3 separate regions of the Homo sapiens genome follow, and all the other regions are linked to region 3. Evidence: promoter capture Hi-C in 16 types of primary human blood cells and fetal thymus (Javierre and others, 2016). All regions are on one chromosome and are shown on one strand. Each heading gives the region's core, a stretch centred on a gene start or on the middle of the fragment in contact. The rest is flanking DNA. Distances are from core to core; before and after follow the strand shown.

Region 1 (3,133 bases), core at 542-3,041, 3.3 Mb after region 3:
ACTATACTGAATGGGGAAAGGTTGAAAGCATTCCCCCTGGGAACTGGAACAAGACAAGGATGCTACTTTCACCACTTCTATTTAACATAGTACTGGAAGTCCTCACCAGAGCAATCAGGCAAGAGAAAGAAATAAAGGGCATCCAAATTGGTAAAGAGGAAGTCACACTGTCACTGTTCACTGATGATATGATTGTATACATAGGAAACCCTAAAGACTCATCCAAAAAGCTCCCAAATCTGACAAATGAATTCTTTAAAGTTTCAGGATACAAAATCAACGTACACAAATCAGTAGCACTGCTATGCACCAACAATGGCCAAGCTGAGAATCAAATCAAGAACTCAATCCCTTTTACAACAGCTGCATAAAAAAAATAATAACAATAGAATACTTAGGAATATACCTAACCAAGGAGGTGAAAGATCTCTAAAAGGAAAACTACAAAACACTACTGAAATAAATCACAGATGACACAAACAAATGGAAACACATCCCATGCTCATAGATGGGTATAATCAATACTATGAAAATGATCATACTGCCAAAAGCAATCTTTAGATTCAATGCAATTCCCATCAAAGTACCATCATCATTCTTCACAGAACCAGAAAAAGCAATCCTAAAATTCATTGAACCAAAAAAGAGCCCAAATAGCCAAGGTAAGCAAACAAAAAAGAACAAATGTAAAGGCATCACATTACCCAACTTCAAATTATACTACAAGACTATAGTAACCAAAACAGCATAGTACTGGTATAAAAATAGGCACACAGACCCATGGAACAGAATAGAGAACCCAGAAAGAAAGCCAAACACTTACAGCCAACTGATCTTTGACAAAGCAAACAAAAGCATAAAGTGGGGAAAGGACACCCTATTCAACAAATGGTCCTGGGATAACTAACAAGCTACGCGTAGAAGAATGAAACTCATCTCTCACCTTATACAAAGTCAACTGGAGATGGATCAACTCAAACTTAAGTAAGATCTGAAACCATAAAAATTCTAGAAGATAACATTGGAAAAAACTCTTCTAGACATTGACTTAGGCAGAGTTCGTGACCAAGAACCCAAAAGCAAATGCAACAAAAACAAAAATAAATAGATGGAACCTAATTAAACTAAAAAGCTTCTGCACAGCAAAAGAAATAATCAGCAGAGTAAACAGACAACCCACAGAGTGGGAGAAAATCTTCGCAAACTATGCATCTGACAAAGAACTAATATCCAGAATCTACAAGGAACTGAAACAAATGAGCAAGAAAAAAACAAATAATCCCATCAAAAAGTGGACAAAGGACATGAACAGACAAAAGAAGATATACAGTTGGCCAAGAAGCATATGAAAAATGTTCAACATCACTATCAAGGAAATGCAAATTAAAACTACAATGAGATACCACCTTACTCCTGCAAGAATGGCCATAATTAAAATATCAAAAAATATTAGATGTTGGCATGAATGTGGGGAAAAGGTAACACTTTTACACTGCTGGTGGGAATGTAAATTATTACAACCACTAGGGAAAACAGTATGGTGATTCCTTGAAGAACTAGAAGAACTACCATTTGATCCAGCAATCCCACTACTGGGTATCTACCCAGAAGAAAATAAGTCATTATCTGAAAAAGCCACTTGCACAGGCATGTTTACAGCAGCACAATTTGCAATTGCAAAAATGTGGAACCAGCTTAAATGCCCAAGAACCAATGAGTGGATAAAGAAAATGTGATATGTATATATACCATGGAATACTACTCAGCCATAAAAAGGAATGAAATAATGGCATTCATGGCAACCTAGATGGAGTTGGACCCCATCATTCTAAGTGAAGTAACTCAGGAATGGAAACCCAAATATCCTGTGTTCTCACTTGTAAGTGGGAGCTAAGCTATGAGAATGCAAAGACATAACAATGATATAATGGACTTTGGGTACTCAGGGGGAAGTGTGGAGAGGGGGGATGAGGGATAAAAGACTACTACAGTGTACACTCCTTGAGTGACAGGTGCACCAAAATCTCAGAAATCATCACTGAAGTACTTATCCATGTAACCAAAAACCACCTGTCCCCCAAAAACTACTGAAATAACATAAAAATGTTTTTTAAAAAGATCTTTACTAAAGATCTCTATTTGAGCAATCAGGATCTTAATATCTCCTCCAACCTGCTTCTCTCTCAGTAAGCCCTAATAATATCAACTATCTCATGTGCATAAGCCAGACATTTGAGACTAAATTTTGACCCTCTTTCCCTCATTCTAAATACGACATCAAGTTCTGTCCATTTTCCCTTCTTAATATCTCTCAAATTAGCCTTCTACTCTTCATCTGTCACTTTTAAACTATCACTATTGTCTTTCACCTGGACTACAACAAGTTCCTAATTAGTCTCTCCATTTCCACTCTTTTCTCCATCAATTCATTAAACACAGAAAAGTCAAAGTAAGCTTTTAACTTGGATTCAAATAATCTCATCTCGATGCTGAAAAAAAAAACTGCAATTGTATGCCACTGAAAATTTAAAGCATATAAATATTAGGATACCTTATCACACCCTACTTGCCTGTATGATCAGGCTATTCTCCAACCTCTTAACCTCACTTACATCTTCCAGAACAAAGACACTTTTTCAGTCTATTATCTCTCCCATCATCATCCTATCCTAACAGAAACTTTCAATAACACCCCCTGCCAACTATTTATCTAGAAAACTTCTATTTACTGAAGATAATTCATGTATGACCTTCTCTGGGAAGTCTCACCTGATCTCCTTCTTCCTTCCCATCTCTTCTTCCTCAACCTCAAAGAATTAGGTTTATTACCTCTGATTCCCATCATATACCACAATAGAGTCATTGCTACATTTTTTACAACAGAACTGTGCTTAAAATGGATGGTTTGCTACTCCCATGAGACTCTGCTTTTTAAGGGTAATATATCTTAGCCATCTCCCTAGCACCCAGGACTAGCACAAAGTAGACATTTAAATATTTGCTAAATAAAATGACTTCAAAATCACCATCACTATCACCATCACACTATCCTGAGTACCTGGGACCACAAGTATGTGCCAATGCACCTGGCTGTGTCTCATATTTACATTCCCACAGTTCCTAGTAAGCTCTT
Region 2 (3,255 bases), core at 116-2,615, 3.2 Mb after region 3:
TATTCATGTATCTTAACCCAACATGTAAATTTCCTTACTATCTTCTATTTCAGACCAATTCAAGCAACAAATATTTCAACTTTCGATGTTTCTCACCTAAGCTACTGTTTTTGTATCCAATTTTTACTCTTGCAAGATTAAATATTTTTATGAATAGGAAATGTAATAATAATTGCCAATTAGCTAATATGTCATGTGAAGATATGTAATCTAGGAAAGTACCATTTTCCTTTTAATATTCTTTATATGCAAATACAAAAAGTCTTAGTCTAATGGTTCAGTTATACATCAAAACATTTATAGATAGGGTTATAAAGTTACAAAACCATCAAAACAAACCACTATAGAAAAATGTGGGAGATTATGTATTTGATATTAAAAAATCCATTAATTAGGTATACTACAAGCTTAGATACGTCTTCAGTTTTTGTTTAAAGCAATTTTCAGTTTTCTTCATCATGAGAATGGGTCCATCTAGTGGTAAGTAAGCCACAGTTTTTAACTAAATATTAGCTCACAATTAACTATTTCAAGGCAACTTCTATTCAAATTTTTCCAGGCAAGCTAATATAATGAAATAAATGTATATGGCATTTACAATCAAACTAGGGAAAGAAACTCCCCAACAAATAGACAGAGAGATTAGCTATAGCTATACATGTTGGGGCAGTTTATAAAGGGGCTGGTGACAATGTATCTTTTTAAATAAAGCCTGATCTCAACATACACTATTTTGGAGGGTGTGGGGGGTATAGACAGGGTCTCTCTATGTTGCCAAGGCTGGTCTTGAACTCCTGGGCTCAAGAGATCCTTGGCCTTGGTCTTCTGGGATTGTAGGCATGAGCCACCACACCTGGCCCACAATTTTATTTCTATCTCACTAGCTAGATAAATTTTTTAATGCTAAAAATCCTAATTATTTGATCAGTCTAATTAGGTCAGTAGTTCTTTTTTTTTTTTTTTTTTTTTTTTTTGAGACGGAGTTTTGTTCTTTTTGCCCAGGCTGGAGTGCAATGGAGCAATCTCGGCTCACTACAACCTCTACCTCAGCCTCCTGAGTACCTGGGATTACAGGCATGCGCCACCACGCCTGGCTAATTTTGTATTTTTAGTAGAGACAGGGTTTCACCATGGTGGTCAGGCTGGTCTCAAACTCTGACCTCAGGTGATCCACCCGCCTCGGCCTCCCAAAGTGTTGGGATTACAGGCGTGAGCCACTGCACCGAGGATTCAGTAGTTCTCAACTGGGGAAGATTTTGCCCCCCAGGGGACATTTTGTAATGTCTAGAGACAATTTTAATTGTTACAATTTGTGGGATGAAGTTGAAGTCCAGCCTGAACAACATAGCCAGACCTGGTCTCTAAAAAATTATTTAATATAATACAATAAAGGCAAAAAAAATTAATGCAGTTGTTCCTCAGACTCCTCAGGGGATTGGTTCTGGGATCCCCCTCAGATACCAAAATCCTCCGATGCTCAGTGCTCAAGTGCCTTGTATAAAATGGCATAGTATTTGCATATGACCTATGAACATCCTGCCGTTTTCTTTGAATCACCTCTAGGTATTACTTATAATACCTAATGCAATGTAAGTGCTATGTGAACAGTTACTATACTGTATTTGTTGTTTTGAAAAAAGCAGGTTATTTATATGGTACAGTATGCAGCTATTATTTAACAGAACAATATTATGAGATATACATGAAATATGTTAAGGATGTGTGTATATATATTCATACATTTATATGAATATATATAACAGTCACACATACATACACATATATTGAGGTATATGACTAGAACCTACACAGCTTAAGGTAATACTGAGGCCTTTATCTGAATAAGTAAAAACAACTCACAGAAGTGTTTTCTCATTTGAGAGAAGCCATTATAGGGGTAAACATTAAATATGCTTAATGAATTCAAAGGAGGGCAGTCAAGCAATTTTAACCTCTGGCATTAGATGTCATGATTTTAGAAAGATTCATACTCCAGGTTTAGGAAAACAAATTCATCCTTGTTATAAATTGTGCAGTTGTATTCTTAGAAGAACTGATAAGAAAAACTTCTAATTGTTTTGAGTGTTTACAGGTTATAAAATTTATAGAACCTAGTGATATATATATATTTTGTTTTATATTCCCGGCAGTGATTCTGTTCATGTGGATTGAATTGGAAACATTTGCTTTGGGCCTGCCAAATTTTGGAGCACAGGATGTATTGCCAGTTATTTCTTATAGTATTACTGTAGAGACAATAACAGAAACTAGTCTCAGAACTGATTGCTGATAACACCTTTCTAAATAAAAAGCACTAAAGAATCAAGCTTAAGTAGTCTTAGGATCTGAAAATACTGTCCTGCTTTTATAGTACTTTCATTTATTTTTAGTTTCAGAGAAGGAATTTTTATCAGCCTTGCACAAACTCTTGCTGATCAATATTTGTGACCAGTAGTAAACATTTGTGATGTGGCAAAGGTTAGACTCAGGTTTCTTTTCAAAGCTGTCTTGGTTTTAAAAAAAAATCCCAGCCTGGGTGACATAGTGAGACCTGGTCTTTAAAAAAAAAAAAAGTAATCTTTGAATTAGCTGATATAATTGTTAATTTATCAATTACAGTTGACAACTGATTCAGTTATCAGTTGATAATTGGTGAGGCTGTGGGCTAATGCTGTAGGCTTCATGGAAATATAAAGTTCTTGAAACACACAGAAGCTTGAAACCTTTTCTAATCCTTAGCAGTAACTACAGCTTCATAGTCCCTTATCTGAAACCCTTAGAACCAGATGTTTTCAATTTTTACCATACTGTTAGCTTCTCTGGGGCAGTACTCTCAAATTTTTTTTTTATTATGGAAATTTGCAGACATACCCAAAGCAGTGAGAATAGAAAAATGAAACCTCATGTATCCATCATCCCTCTTTGGTAATTATCATTTTGCTGATTTTTTTTCATCCTCCACCCTTAATAATATTTTTGGAGTAAATTGGCCTTCCTATATCTGTATTAAAAATATTTGGGAAAAAACTCAATAAAAAATACAGTAAAAAATAATACAAATTTAAAAATACAATATAGTAACTGTTCACATAGAACTTACATTGTATTAGGTATTATAAGTAATACCTAGAGGTGATTCAAAGAAAACGGCAGGATGTTCATAGGTCATATGCAAATACTATGCCATTTTATACAAGGCACTTGAGCACTGAGCATCAGAGGATTTTGGTATCTGAGGGGGATCCTAGAACCAAT
Region 3 (3,140 bases), core at 419-2,918:
AACAAAAAGGAACATAATCCAAAATTACATGTTTTATTTTCATGTTTGTAAAACGAAGAGCTTTTTTCTGGATGGTTTTCTTATCAGCTTTTCACACAACAGTCAAGTAAACCTCGTGGCACTAGCCCTAGAAAAGGAAAAACACGAGATTCTTACAAGACTACAAACATTACAACATATGTAAAAGCATTAAAAGTATTAAAAAAAAATATTGTCCTTATAACGGTCCATCTCAGAAGCCAGATCCGTAAAAGTTTTTTTTTTTCAACAGAAGTTCAGGTTCGGGATAAGATCATCACAGATAAGACCAAGGACACAATATTCACTGATCTCTAAGCAAACAGAAAAACTCCACTTACAGAAATCGTTGCAACTTTGGAACTTCCAAGACAATCTGGCCTCTATCAATGGGCAGACAGCGACCCTCACTGTTGGCAGAAAAAAAAAAAACCCAGGATTTTATAACACAACTGTTATAAAATCACGGCAACAAAATTTACTCCACCTCTGAATTACTGGTCTTAATCTCAGAAGCCGAATCCGTACTTATTTTTCTTCAGGTTATCAGCTTCGGGATAGGTTTCATCATTGATTAGACCAATCAGACCTTGTATATGTACACATAATACATTAAACTGCACTTCTGTGACACTGACTACAAACCAAGGTAATGCTAAAAGGCAAGTATTATAGTACAAATACTACAGAACTTTTAAGCCATACAACCTACTTCAAAATGAAGCTGCTAGTCAGTCACATTCGACATTCATTATCTTCACTGGCTACTCGTCCACACTCAGAACGCTGTTCACTGACAAAAAAAATTTGATTTAGTCTAGGTGTGGATTAAATGCTATGCTCAATCATAAAGTACTAAAACAACACATACCTGTTAAAAGTGTCAGGTTTTAACCAAGCGATTTTCCATTAAATATTCTCCCAGATGTTCTGGAAGTTTTTTCGTGTATCTAACAAAAAAAAGTAAATTTCAAACGATGCAACAGTTCCTATTCCTGTAAATCAACAGGTTTACTCCTTTAGTTTGGAAACTAAGCTTAACTAAGCTCTTACCTTTGCATCTTCAGAGCTGCTCCACTGTGCCACTGAAGACAGCGCCATTGTTCCTGCGGGAAATCGGTATTTAAGCATTCTCGCAGAAATGTCACACTCCAAGGCGTTTTTCCACACAAAACCCTTCCCCTTCATTAATCCGAATTGCACACAACGCCGCCTTCGAACAGCTCAGTTTCAATACAGGGTCGAGGCTTCCCATTTTAAAACAACGCCGACGGAAGGCCTTCGCCATTTTAGTAAAGGCCCTTTGCTGTTAAAACTAACCCTCCGCCCCAATTAAGGTGGTTTTTCCGCCGCCGCTCAGGCACATGCCGGAGGCCAGCAAGTTCGGCGCCCGTGGCCGATCAGCGGTTCCTCACGCCAAAACTCGGAGCCTGTGGCCGTCACGACTCAACCTCAGTACATGTGGCAGTCCGGCCGCACGTTTCCCACGTGCAAGCTTTCAACTCTCAGCACTCTAAACTCTTCACTAAGATGTCTTCACAGGATTAAAGCTCTTAACTCGGCCTGCGCCACCATCTTTTGCTCGGATACTAGCCCGCAATACCCACTCACCTACCACCCGCCCAGACGCTCGCGAAGGCCGACGTAAAAGACCGAAGTGCGCAGCCAGTAGCTCCTTATATAGCCTCCCGGAGTCAGAACGAGGCCGTCCCGCCCTCTCGCACCTATTGGACATGGAAGTAGACAGGGGTGTGGTCGCGAATTAGCGGGAGCGCGCGCGGTGGCTCTTCTGAGGCCCGTTCCGCGTTGTGGAGCGCGCCGCAGGCCGGCCGCGCGCCCGGCCATTTCCCGGCGCGCGCCCGCAGGCGCACTGCGAAGCGTCTCTTACGAGTCTGGCGGCCGACTTGGCCCTACGTGGCGCGGGTGTGGCGCCAGAATTCAAACAGCTGCAGTTGGAAACGACGCTTTCGCCTGCCACGAGCCAAGTCCGTCCAGGACAGATTGGGTCCGAGAGTGGACACAAGTTTTGCAGCGCAGGGCGGCCTCAGCTTAGGACCGATTCGAGAAGCTGGGCTGGCTGGCTGGCTGGCGCTGGGCTGTAGTGGGCCCCCAGCGGAGGCCGCCGGAGGAGCGGGCGAGCCCTGGCCGCAGCACTCCGGGAAAGGGCAGTTGGCTGGCAGAAACGCTTGGGTGAAAAAGCGGAAAGCGCCACGTGAGAACAGCCCCGGCGTGCGGCCCTGCAGGGCCTCAGGGCGGGCATCAAGGCCCCATGGGGATCCATTCCTCCTCACGCTTCCTCGTGCCAGGCATCCGGTTACACTAAACGTGACCATACAAGTCTCCCTCAAACAGCGAACGTGAGGTTCAATACTCCATTTCGCAGAGGAGAAAACTGAGGCTTAAAACAGCCAGGTAATTTGCCTAAGGTCACACAGCTGAAATGCTTTGCTAATTTTTAACTTCTTTGTACTCAATTAGTTATATTGAAAACGAGAGAAAGATTAATTTGAGAAGTATCCCTGAATACTTTATCCAGACGACAAACACAAAATTCAAAAGCAGTGCTTTGATTAATTAGCATGTTCGAGTGAATATGTCTGCGTGTGTGTGTGTGCACACGACATTTGAACATTTCAGTATTTGAAAATTCAGGTCGTTCTTCACTTCTATATTTCAAAGCACTACTTATTAAAGTTGTTTATGTGTGCATTTGATTACGGTCCGATTCTGCTAGAGTGTGGGAGCAACACATCTGATTTCGTGCTCTGCTGTTTATTTTTTCTTAGAACAGTGCCTAGCATTAAGTAGGTTGTCGGTAATGGTTAAATGAATGAATGAATGAACAAATACATTCGGTGGCTTTTTAGAAAATTAGAATGAAGATCAAACTTCACATTCAAAGATAGTAGTGAAAAGCACTTTTCTCTAACAGGAACCTATATGATGAAGTATTGACTGGGCCGGGCATTTTGTCGGTTTTTGTATTACTTTGTAATGTCTTACATAAATTTGCATATTGCTCATAGTAAATAGTAAAACAAACAATACAGTACAAAAGGATATAAGAAGCAAAGTAGGCCGGGTGTGGTGGCTTATGTCTGTAATTAGAGCACTTTTGGAGG

Evidence for each region. Contacts are between HindIII fragments. The CHiCAGO score rates a contact against its expected background, and 5 or more counts as called.
Region 1: a contact is called between a fragment that was not itself captured here and the fragment with the promoter of SNHG5 in region 3, in 1 of 17 cell types (non-activated CD4 T cells). The highest score is 7.3, in non-activated CD4 T cells.
Region 2: a contact is called between a fragment that was not itself captured here and the fragment with the promoter of SNHG5 in region 3, in 1 of 17 cell types (monocytes). The highest score is 8.1, in monocytes.

The regions. Positions count from the first base shown.
Region 1 is chr6:88,957,260-88,960,392 of GRCh38, forward strand. The region is part of intron 1 of RNGTT (RNA guanylyltransferase and 5'-phosphatase); the gene reads right to left. Among named protein-coding and RNA genes, the nearest start is that of RNGTT, 4.8 kb to the right of the region's middle. The HindIII fragment of the contact is 1,322 bases long and covers 1,131-2,452 here.
Region 2 is chr6:88,918,760-88,922,014 of GRCh38, forward strand. All of the region lies in intron 4 of RNGTT (RNA guanylyltransferase and 5'-phosphatase), which reads right to left. Among named protein-coding and RNA genes, the nearest start is that of RNGTT, 43 kb to the right of the region's middle. The HindIII fragment of the contact is 1,920 bases long and covers 406-2,325 here.
Region 3 is chr6:85,677,065-85,680,204 of GRCh38, forward strand. SNHG5 (small nucleolar RNA host gene 5) reads right to left here and starts at 1,669. Exons shown (of 6, transcript NR_003038.2): 1 at 1,630-1,669; 2 at 1,072-1,124; 3 at 890-968; 4 at 731-811; 5 at 360-428; 6 at 1-127. It overlaps SNORD50B (small nucleolar RNA, C/D box 50B), which reads right to left and starts at 595; the gene lies at 525-595. SNORD50A (small nucleolar RNA, C/D box 50A) reads right to left here and starts at 304; the gene lies at 230-304. RefSeq lists enhancers at 1,250-1,309, 1,480-1,639. The HindIII fragment of the contact is 13,479 bases long and covers 1,512-3,140 here.